Linked DNA regions of Homo sapiens: all the other regions are linked to region 1. Evidence: promoter capture Hi-C in 16 types of primary human blood cells and fetal thymus (Javierre and others, 2016). All regions are on one chromosome and are shown on one strand. Each heading gives the region's core, a stretch centred on a gene start or on the middle of the fragment in contact. The rest is flanking DNA. Distances are from core to core; before and after follow the strand shown. Region 1 has its middle 3.8 kb from the start of RMDN2. Region 2 holds the start of SRSF7 (serine and arginine rich splicing factor 7). Region 3 holds the start of HEATR5B (HEAT repeat containing 5B). Region 4 holds the start of STRN (striatin).

Evidence for each region. Contacts are between HindIII fragments. The CHiCAGO score rates a contact against its expected background, and 5 or more counts as called.
Region 2: a contact is called between the fragment with the promoter of SRSF7 here and a fragment that was not itself captured in region 1, in 1 of 17 cell types (total CD8 T cells). The highest score is 5.2, in total CD8 T cells.
Region 3: the fragment with the promoter of HEATR5B here is called in contact with a fragment that was not itself captured in region 1 in 1 of 17 cell types (activated CD4 T cells); the score reaches 5.2 in activated CD4 T cells.
Region 4: a contact is called between the fragment with the promoter of STRN here and a fragment that was not itself captured in region 1, in 2 of 17 cell types (fetal thymus and erythroblasts). The highest score is 6.2, in fetal thymus.

Annotation. Positions count from the first base shown.
Region 1 is chr2:37,920,171-37,922,870 of GRCh38, reverse strand. It overlaps a transcript of RMDN2 not described here. Among named protein-coding and RNA genes, the nearest start is that of RMDN2, 3.8 kb to the left of the region's middle. The HindIII fragment of the contact is 626 bases long and covers 983-1,608 here.
Region 2 is chr2:38,750,029-38,752,732 of GRCh38, reverse strand. It overlaps SRSF7 (serine and arginine rich splicing factor 7), which reads left to right and starts at 1,372. Exons shown (of 8, transcript NM_001031684.3): 1 at 1,372-1,504; 2 at 2,539-2,704. The coding sequence starts at 1,477. RefSeq lists an enhancer at 868-927 and silencers at 1,788-1,887, 2,098-2,287. The HindIII fragment of the contact is 14,475 bases long and covers 1-2,704 here.
Region 3 is chr2:37,083,025-37,085,724 of GRCh38, reverse strand. It overlaps HEATR5B (HEAT repeat containing 5B), which reads left to right and starts at 1,353. Exons shown (of 36, transcript NM_019024.3): 1 at 1,353-1,456; 2 at 2,289-2,436. The coding sequence starts at 2,311. GPATCH11 (G-patch domain containing 11) reads right to left here and starts at 1,207. Exons shown (of 9, transcript NM_174931.4): 1 at 1,155-1,207. RefSeq lists enhancers at 1,116-1,275, 1,746-1,845. The HindIII fragment of the contact is 3,413 bases long and covers 1-2,233 here.
Region 4 is chr2:36,964,926-36,967,908 of GRCh38, reverse strand. STRN (striatin) reads left to right here and starts at 1,373. Exons shown (of 18, transcript NM_003162.4): 1 at 1,373-1,679. The coding sequence starts at 1,446. RefSeq lists a silencer at 883-1,692. The HindIII fragment of the contact is 8,803 bases long and covers 1-2,983 here.

The sequences.
Region 1 (2,700 bases), core at 46-2,545:
GTATCCTTTTTATCCTGTTCCTTGTGCCTGGAATATCCTGTTGCTTGCCACCCGTCCAAAACCAATTCAACCACTTCAACCTCTTTCCCTTGAGAAGCTACACACTCTCTCCTTCCCCATAAGAAGTATTCATCCATGCCCCATCAAAACTTATGGAAGGACCAGGAGTTTCAATGAATACAAAATGCCTCCCTGCTAGCTTACAGCAAACCTCTCTGGTGTACACTATATAATTACTGCTTGCCAGTGACTGTGTGTTTGTGAGGCTGTGAACATCTTCAAGGATGGTAGCATTTATCTTTGTATCTTGGGAACCTGGCATGGTGCACACCCTCTATATTAGATAACTATTTGAAAGTAGTATGTACATTTGAGGGAAAAGCATGAGGAAATGTATAGTCCTTCATTATAGTAATGTGAGATGGGAGTGTCAATTTTTTTTTTTTTTTAGGTTTTATTTGAGTGGTTTTATTTCCAGGAAGCAATTGAATGACAAAGTTAGTTTTAACCCTTTAACAGTTACCAATATGCTATATAGTTAACTATTCATTTTCTAGTTCCTTGTTGTTATTTCCAAATCTTATCAAACTTACAAGCTGAATTTCTTAATTTGTAAACTGAAGGCTGAGCTGCAGGTATAATTAGTACCACTATGAAATCCCCAACCCCCGCTTCAAAGAGCAGAATCAACCTTCATTTCCAGGCTGGTTTTAAGAAAGTATTTTAAGGAAAGGGTTAAGGAAATATTTTACTGCAAATAGCTGGGGAAAAACTTTTAAATTAAGAACACCCTAACCATTGAGAGAGAGGGATTTAGAGAGGGAGAAGCGCACAGGCAAAGAGCAGGGGCAGAGGAAGAAGTCCCCCAGGTGTAACCGAAGCTCTGAGTTCCCCGAATCATTTGTAAACGAGGAGGAGCAAAGGGCAGCAGCAACAGGTACAGCAGGAACATTTATTGAGTCTTCTACACAGTTTTCAAGCTTCGTTCTTTATATGAATTATCTTATTCCATTTTCCCAACAATCTAATGAAGTAAATAACATACAGGTGAGGAAACCAAGGCTTCAAGAGGTGAAGAAACTTGTCCCAGGCCACATAGTCAGTTTTAGAGACAAATATCAAACTTAACTTTGTCTGAGAGCCTTTTCTCTTAACCCAGCCCATCTTGGACCCCCAGACCCTGCCTTTGATAGAACACTTGAAGGGACTCTTCATAGCACCATTTACAAGAACATCATAGCCCTTCTAATGTGATATTACATCATTTGTATCCCCCACTTCAGTTATTTAGGGTTCAGCTTTCACTGCTTCTGTTAGAGGAGAAACTGAATTCTCAAATCTGATCATTTGCCCCATGGGGGGTTTTCTGCAGTTTACCACAACCTCTAATCCACAGAGTATAAAATTACTTTGTGTTTATGATATTCAGGTTAGGCTAGGAATAGAATTTGGGGAAAAGAGGAATATAATACTATGTCTGATGTAGTTTTAAAAAAATTAGGCAGTCTCTAGAACACAGGAAAATTACAAAAAAAATTTCTGAAAAGAAACTAACTTGGACTTTCTAAGGTAAAAATGTTTTATCTGAAAAAAGCATTAGGATAAGCTTATTAAATATTTCCATAGACTAAGTGATTAGTGCAATAAATTATTAATCACTTAAATCCAATAAAATGGTTGGCCTAATACTCCTATACTGAACAAATTAAAAATGGTATTTTAGGAAGATATGTATGAAAGAAAAATTAACAACGATATTTATGTTATGCTACTTAGCAGTTCAATGTTGAATCAATTTATTAAAAGTATACATACCTAATTAAGATATAGAATTCTTATTAGAAACTTTCTATTTCATTAGAAACATTAAGTTTTTGTTCCATGAAAAAAGTCATTTTCAAAAAGGCATGTACTAACCTTGCTCAGTGGTTTTCCGCAGTATTTCGGTGATGATTCAAGAAAAGAATGACGTTTCTTTAAAAATTGTGGAAGATTTTTTAAGTCACATTCCTCCACTGATTTTCCATGGCCTTTGTAAATAAAGCACAGCCTTGGATACAATCCAAAGTGGAACTTGACAGATTCAGAGGAAGAGTGGTTTTGCCCCTCCCTCTGCATTCTTTCTTCATCCTGGGAGATGATGTTCAGGGACACTGTTGACAGTATATACATCAACTTCACAAGCTAAGGTCAGTTTCACTGGCGCTAATTAAAAATAAAGGTGAATATTCATCATCATCAGACAAAATGTTGTTAACACGTGTACAAAAAGTTAAAATAACTGGATATGCTTAATTACATATAATAATTGGAAAAAAATTTCATTTTGGACTTGGGTGGTAAGTGGATTTTATACAATATTCTGCTGGGAAAAATTGGGGTTAGCAGTTTTCCAGACTTACTGTCTTCAGACTATACAAAGGAAAGTGATTTTCCCTTTCGGAGCAGACCCTTTTCAAGAAATTGTTCAGTAGACAGAGCCCCTGGGCATACAAATAAATAAACAGAGAGAATCTACTCTCATATATTGCAATAGAGACACATTAATTAACCAACCGTTGTTAGAACTTTTTGCATTTTATAAAAATTATACTCCTATCATTATTAAGACACATATTTGGACTCTCAGAGAAGACAGTCTAGAAGAAGATGAAAACTGAAACACTACTGTAATGATTTTAGAAGAAATCCAGACTAAAG
Region 2 (2,704 bases), core at 123-2,622, 830 kb before region 1:
CTTTATAATTATTGTTTCTTTTGAGAAGAACCTTGTTAAGAAAAAAATCACCAAGACTAAGGGAGAACACATATACTCTACAGAGCTTCTATTTTCTTCTTAGAGATCTTCCTGAGAGAGATTAATTCTCTCCATAACTTAATCAACGTAAAAAATATGCATAAAATCATAGCATGACCTGGAAAGAATCCATGCTTTATTCACCAACTAGGCCTGCTTTCCCTGTACTCTCCATTCCACACCTATACTCACCAAATGAAGTTGCAAAAGACGAAAAAGATAAAAATGCAAATACCTAAATGTCTTTTTTTATGTACATTTCCAACTTTTGTGTATTCCAAGAATTTACGATGTAATGTCTATGTTTCTAGCAAAAAAGAACTTTTTCTCTATTTGTAGTTGGTGTCTAGAGCAATTCTAATGTAAAGAAGTTTTGCATTTATTTGGTACTGTTGAGTGGCTGAGCAGCAAGGCTGCTATTTCCACTGAGTGGAGATACACAAAGATGACTTAGGAGTCCCAGTCCTCAGGATCGGAGTATTGGTGGATCACACGTGTTACAAAGCAGAAAGCATTAGGAAAAGCAAATCAGTTACTTTGAGCTTCAGATGCAAATAATTTCCAAATTGTCACTGGCCAAAATGCTTTAAACATTCAGGGTTTTGTCACAATTTCAATATAAAGGGGGGAGGGGGGAGCGGGACCCCACAGCTCTATTCCTTTGTCTTTCAGACTCCAAGAACTCAGACCGTGGTGGTGCAAACTGGTGACTGGTTCAAAAGAAGTTGGAGGGGGCGTGTAGGACAGGAGGCTTTACCACCAGTCCCAGGGTGCGTCAAGGTCTATGGTGTAAAAACCACTACTCAGAATGGCGGGGTTCATGGACTTTTCACCATGGCCAAACCTTCGATTACCTCTGATGAGCCCCAAAGATCAGAGTAGCTGACTAGGCCAGGTCCCCCAGCAGAAGGGCGCGACGGCTGCAACATCAGCGGTTAAATTGTACAGCCTTTCATAGGCCGGTCTAATGCATCCGTACTAAGATTGTTAAGGCTGAGGGTCCCTAGCCTGGGGAAAAACGAAAGGAGGCAGAGGGTAGGGAGACGGGAAAGAAGACAAGGAGGGTGTAGAAAACGGGGAGAGGAGGGGGCGGGACAGCATGGGGAAGGCCTCAGGTTTACTGGAGAGATCGTGGCGTTCCCATAGAAACGTATCCCTCCGCCCATGACCCGCGTGTTAGTCTCTTCAGTTCCTTCCGCGTCGTTTCTTGGCTGTTTCCGCCCAGCTCCTTTGTGCCGCGCAGAACAACGAGATGACGCATGCGCAAAGCGCAGCGGCCGCATATATAAACGCGAACCCGGGCTCTTCCTCGTAGTGCCGCCGGGACTCTTGGCGGGTGAAGGTGTGTGTCAGCTTTTGCGTCACTCGAGCCCTGGGCGCTGCTTGCTAAAGAGCCGAGCACGCGGGTCTGTCATCATGTCGCGTTACGGGCGGTACGGAGGAGGTAAGAAGCTGGAGTCCGGTGAGGGACGTTGGTGTGGGTGTAGTGAGCACTGCGAGGCCGTAGGGTTGTCGCGGAGGTTGGGAGACGGTTATTCCGCGTGCGTAATGGCGGCTTAGGAGCACGCCAGACGAAGCCGGAGGCAGCGGAGGCGGGGTGCTGAAGGGAGACGGGATGGCGGGTGTACATCTCTGCCGAGTTCCGTACTCTTGGGCATTTTTGTGGCCCAATCCAGCCTAAAGCAGGGTTGAGATGACGGTTTTCGCGTTGCCTTTCTCGGAGCTGCCCGCCGGCCCCCCTCCCCCCCCGCCCTCGGCGGCGGCTGCCATTTTGCGCACATTGAGGACCGTGGTGGCGCATTTCCTCAGCGCTTTCCCGCCACTTCAGCGGACAGATCTGGCCGCAGCTGTAAGATCGTGGTTGTGTTTGAGATAGAACGAAATTGGCAGCTGTGAGCTGCATGTTCTCGTCAAACAATCGGTTAAATTGCGGAATGGGAATGGGGACGTAATCTGCGACTGGCGGCTGGGTTTTTTTTAGTTATTTCCAGCGCGGTTTATGGCTCTGGGGCGGGGAGCTGGAGTCTTGGGCGAGCCTGTGCCTGGGACGTTTGCCGCGGAGGACGAGAGCCGGCGCAGCCCTGCTCTCCTGGCCCGGCCCCTACCGAGGCCCTCCCGCCGCCGACGCCGCTGCCGCTGCGGGCCCGCGCGCTCCCGGTGCGCCCGGGGCTGCCGGGACTCATGGGTGGGGCCGGGCCAGGTTCCGCCCCACGCCTCGGTGTATCCTACCACGCGTTTCTGCTTGTGTTCGGGAGGGTCACCCCGCATTATTTAGAACGTTAAGAATTTTGTCAAAAGTCTAGTTTCTCAGGGATTTGCGGACTTTCACCAGTTTTACGACTAAGTTTTGTCTTGGATAGAGGGCATTAAATGTGCTTTACCCAATCTTGAGGATGGCCCGTTTTAAGGCAAATAAGTAATTGAAACTTGGGCCAGATTTTGCGTAACGTGCATTCTTCTATTTGCGTTTTTAAACAGAAACCAAGGTGTATGTTGGTAACCTGGGAACTGGCGCTGGCAAAGGAGAGTTAGAAAGGGCTTTCAGTTATTATGGTCCTTTAAGAACTGTATGGATTGCGAGAAATCCTCCAGGATTTGCCTTTGTGGAATTCGAAGATCCTAGAGATGCAGAAGATGCAGTACG
Region 3 (2,700 bases), core at 104-2,603, 840 kb after region 1:
ATAATTTGTTATGTAGCAAAAGTTATCAGGAAGTAGAACCTTATCAGGCACCTGGGAGCCCTCTTTGTCCCCTATCCAGTTGCAACTCTCTTTTGGTTCTAAGAATAGTCACTATTCTGTTTTTTATGGCAATCATTTCCTTCATTTTCTCGATAGTTTTGTCATCCACGTGTGCATCTTTAAACATTACAGTTTAGTTTACCTATTTTTATTATAAGTTAAAAACGTGCACTATTATATACAGCATTTATGGTAATTCACCCGCTTCCTCTAAACCTCAGATTCTTCATTGGTAATAACAGCATTTTTACACATAATGGTTTAACACTTACCCAGTATATCACACATTTTTATCACATTTAACCACCACTAACAACTCTACAAGGTAGGAAGAGTTTTTCCTGTTGGAGAAATTAAGGTTCAGTATGGCTAAATGACTATTTCAAAACCACAAAGAATCCGGGTCATAGTGCCTTGCAAATAGGATTACATTGTTTTTAAGAGACCTACTTAACTTTAAAGTGCCAGGCACATCTGAATGGGGTTACAGGTTGCTTTTAAAGCTCTCTTTCTATTGGTAAAATATACTTTAGCATTATCCATTTCCATCAAAGATAAGCATAAACTTCACAAGGCGATACCCTGGCAGAGATGATGGAGGCTCGTACCAGAGTGATAGCAATGCAAGTGGTCGCATTTGGGGTACACTTGAAGGTAGAGCTTACAGGATTTGCTGATGTTGTAGGTAGTACGTAAAGAACGATGTCAAGATAACGCTAAGTTTTTGGCCTGAATACATGGAAGAACGGAGTTAACGTTTTTTGAGAGTGGGAAGACTGTAGGAGTAGGTTTGTTTTTGTTTTTTTAGGGGGCGTAGTCGGGAAACAGACATATTGAGAGTCCCATTACATATACAAGTGGAGAAATGGACCTACAGTATAAATGTGACAAGAAACGTCCCACTCTCAATACTACGCTCAGGAACCGCTGATCCCTTCCCTCACGCGTTCCTCCTGGCTGCAAGCGTCCCACAGACGCAACCACCCACGGATGGAAAAGTGGCTGACGGTGTGATACGGTAGTCATGGCCAGCGCACTCTGCCTTTTATCATTCTACCGGTTGTCCCCAGACCCTTACCTGACAGCTCTCTTACCTGACAGCTCTCTGCTCGCCCCGGTTCAGCGCCGTAGAGCGCGCGCTGCGCATGCGCCCACCGACCAGCGTCGGACTTCCGGACCTCGGCTCCCACCAGTTTCCTAGTGCAGACTCTATTGGAAATTCGCGGCGGGTGGGGATAGGAGGACGTGGTGACTGCGCTTGCGCAAGACCAGCCCTCCGCGCAAGCGCTCTTCCCTTGTTTCCTGCAGGTAGGAGTGCGGGAGGTGGGGCATCCGGGTCTCTTGGTGGCTGCTTCTACCCCCGGAGCTCAGCTGATCTTCCCTTCCAGACTACGAGGTGAGGTCGCCGAAGCATGCATGTTGACACGCACGGACTCCTGTCCGACGTACATTTTCAGACGGGTGGGGAAGACATTTGAGTTCGTAATGAACATTTTCCCTTTTCTGGCTCCGTGCTTAGTTCCGAGCTGCCGCCTCGTGCTATTGACAGCCTGCGGAACCCCACGGAGGCTTGCGGCGGCCTCTTGGTGTTTCCCCGGGTCCGCCGCTTGCGGTTCTTGGAGTAGCCAGGTGAAGCCAGACCCCGAGCGCGCGAGGCTTCTCGGGTGCATTCCGGACCGCCTGGTGTTGTCACTGACGCTTCGGCCGCCGGGCCTGGCCGCCCCACCCATCCGCGTAGGAAGAGTCTTGGAGACCTGCAGTTCGGGATGTCTGTGCTGGGTGTTTTGACCTCAGTCCCTCTGGCCAGGTGCAGCGCGGGAGGGTAAAGGTGCTATGTACCGAACCCTGGACGAGAAAAAGAGGAGGATGGTTGTCAAGCCCGGCTGGGGTGTTTGATCTTAGTGCTTCAGTTTTTTCATTTATAGAACGGGTAAATGACATATGTGTTGCTGGACATATTTCTTCTGGAATAATGCCTTTTTTGGCAATAATTTCTTTTAATTTTCTTTTCACTCCATGAGTCACTCTTCCTTACCAAGTAGTTTTCTTCTGTTTTTGTTTGTATTTTTGTCATTTAAAAGTATGTTCTCAGGTTTTGCCTCAAAGAAGTTGAGTTTTTCCCCAAATGAAATGAGTAGTCCTACTTTTCTTAGTGAGTATATTCCATTAAGCTTGACTTTTAACATTAAAAAATACTTACAAGTATTTTTTACTCTGTTAAATTTAAGGTGTGAATTTCAAACTTCCGTAATGGAGTTAGCCCACAGTTTATTGCTAAATGAAGAAGCTTTGGCTCAAATCACCGAAGCAAAAAGACCAGTTTTCATCTTTGAATGGTTGCGATTTCTTGATAAAGTCTTGGTTGCTGCCAACAAGGTATGGTATTGCTCTTTTTTCCCAGTTGCATTAACGTGAAGAGATTATGTGGTCATGATTCTTAAGAAAACACATGTTATGTTTTGGAAGGTTTATGGGTCACTTATGGAACTTGAGAGTATTACACGAATGGGAAATTTAGTGGCAAAACTCAAACCTCGTTTAAATCCAGCTCATTGCCTATCTTCTTTATGTTTGTACCTGGGCAGCTCATTGTAACTGGAGAAAAACATGGCTATATGACTGGTGTCACTTTAAATTTAT
Region 4 (2,983 bases), core at 124-2,623, 960 kb after region 1:
TGATAACCCACAAGTACGTCCTACAAAACGTAAGAATTTCAGATAACTTGTTAGGGTGACAAAATAAGTGCTTAATTTCATTTGCATTTGTTAAATTGTTTTCAGGGGCCTTCCTTTTTGCCACTGTTGTAGTGTGAATTTATAGTGACATATTGTCAGACTTCGGAGAAGGCAAATATTTACAGAGAGTAACTTGAAAGGACTTTGGTGTACCTTTGGTAGGCGGATGCTGTTGCCAGTTGGCAGGTGAATCGTGAAAGAAACTGGGAACAGGACAAGTGAAAACGGAGAGGGGCCAGGATATCTAAGACCGCGCTAGGGAGCAGAAAGGGAACTTGCTTTTTCAAGGTGGTGTAGCTTTTAAATTAAGCCTTTGTGATATTTGATTATACGCCAATCTTTGATGACAGAAACGATGTCATTTATCTTAATATTCCCAGCGCAAGAGAAAACCGATAATCAAAATATTTGTTCAATTAAGTAGAGTAAAAATCAGCGGGAATAAGATAGGAAAAATGAGACCGAAATAACAGAACATCTATTATTGGATGCTAAAACTTTTACAGGATTTACTGCAGGAGGACTGCAAAGGGAAAGAAACTTCAACGGAGCAGTTTTTCAGATGGGCTGTCAACAAACCACAATTTGGAAGCAGCAGCAGAAAGCTGCGGCGTTGTCTTAGAAAGGTGATCGGCGTTCCTTAGAAATGAAAACTGGTCAGGTAACAGGTTTGAGCCCCTCGAGTCAAAAGAGAAAGGCAAGAGCGACAGCGACCCGCAGATTGGCAGAATGGAGGAGCGTCTAGGGTGAGAGAAACTCCGAACACGAAGCCGAAGCGAGAGCACGCAGGGCAGCTGGCGGGAGAACCCCGGTCCCGCGGCCGCACCGGGTAGCTCGCTTTGAGCCTGTTCCTTCACAGAACGGCCAGGAAGCCTTAAAAGATGTGCAGCTCGGGCAGGTATCTTGGCGTGACAACTTCCGTGTGTGTGTGTGTGTGTGTGTGTGTGTGTTTTTGAATGCAACAGGGTGCGCCGCCCGCGAACTTCCGCGTGCGAGGAAGACTGGAGACCCGCCCGCCCGCGCCCAGCCGGCCCCAGAGGAAACCCGCTCTCCCCGCCCAGCCGGCCCCCTACGCGGCGAGCCGGGGCGGGGCGGGCCCGAGGCCACGCCCAAGCTGAGGCACAGCCCTACAGGCCGCCCGGGCCGCGCTAGCCCGCGCCCCGCCCCGCGACTACATTTCCCGGCAAGCCCCGGGCCGCCAGCGCGCCGCAGTTGACCCATTTCCCGGCCCGTCACGGGCTCGGCCGGCCCCCGCGCCCAGGAGGCTGCTCCCTGCTGACTGGGGTGTGGGCGGGAGCGGCGGAGGGAGGAGGAGGCGCTGCTTGCCGCCGCTGTTGCCTCCGCTGCTGGGCGCCGGGGCAGCTCCCCGGGTATCTGCGGCCGCCATGGACGAGCAGGCGGGTCCCGGCGTCTTCTTCAGCAACAACCACCCGGGCGCCGGCGGTGCCAAGGGGCTCGGGCCTCTGGCGGAGGCTGCCGCGGCCGGCGACGGGGCGGCTGCGGCGGGGGCGGCCCGAGCCCAGTACAGTCTCCCGGGGATCCTGCACTTCCTGCAGCACGAGTGGGCCCGCTTCGAGGTGGAGAGAGCCCAGTGGGAGGTGGAGCGGGCGGAGCTGCAGGTAAAGACCCTCCCGGCCTGGCCGTCTTCATCCCGCCTCTTTGCTCCCTTCCGCCCCGCCCCGGACCCTTCTCCCCCTCCCCCAGCCTTCTCGCGTCCCCTCCCCCTTTGCTGCCGCCCATCCCACCCGGAGCCCCGTCCCCTTCTTCTCTTCGCCTTTTGCCTTTCGCTGACCCCACCTCGACCCTGTTCTCACTCCCGCTCCTGGTGCGTTGTTTACCCTCCCCACGCCTGTTCGTCCGCCCCATCCCACTCTTAACTCCCAGACTCATTTCAACTCTCTGGCCATCCTGCATCTCAGGGCTGCCCTCTCGGTTTACTAATTGGGCTGGCAGTAGTTTTGAGAGACGCGGAGCAAATCGTCCGCTGCCCTGGTGTGCCCCTTCCTAGGTCTAGAGACAGTCTCCGCAGAACGTGCCGGCTTTGGCCCCTCTCTTCAAGGAAGGTGATCAAGAAGACAACAGAAGTTGTGTCAGGCCTTGAGTCGAGGCGAGAAGTTGACGTTGGGCAAAAGTGTTATTCATATATCAGATCCCTTTTTTTATATATGTAAATGTCTGTTCTCCACTTTCTTCCGACCCCCCGGCCCCCTCCCACGTTTCTTTTAGGTATTTCCAATTAATGCATTTTGAATGAAGGACCTAGATGATCGCAGTCAGAGAGAATGGTTAAGAGGTGGTTCCTGTTCTCAGAATCTGAAACTTCCCAAGGGTTAATTTTATGTTCAGTGTTTTGGGAGATTTTCTTGTGCTTTAAAAGGAACTAAAGGGACTTTGAAGTTAGTTACATTGCCTTGCATAATCTGCAAGATAAAGTATATCCAGGGAGGAGATAACTGTGGGCTCTGAAAAGAATGAAAGTGAGGCTGATACTTTACAAGCCATTCAGAATTGGTGAATAGGTTTTCAGTGGTTGTTCTTAAAACTTCCAGGGCATACACACCAATTTCAAAAGGAACTTAAAGAACTATGAATAGTTGTGCCTTTCTGTTTTACGGGCTAAGCCTGTATACTTATGAAATTTGAGTATAGTTTTAGTTGGCAAAACACTTGAGTTTAAAATGCTACCCAGTGTGTCACTTTTTTTGGTAACATGTATTTGGCGCTTAAGAAAAAAAAGAAGAGGAGAAATCTGTTAAATAGAATCATGTGCTGGAACAGGCTCTGGTGTAGTGGAAGTGGCTGTGGAAAGAGCGAACACACAAGGCTGTAGTAGACAAGGTTATAGTAAGGGCTGTGTTTGTTGCTAGCTCTGTGACCTTGAGGAAATCCTTTAACCTCTCTGGGTTTCAGTTTTATCATGTAT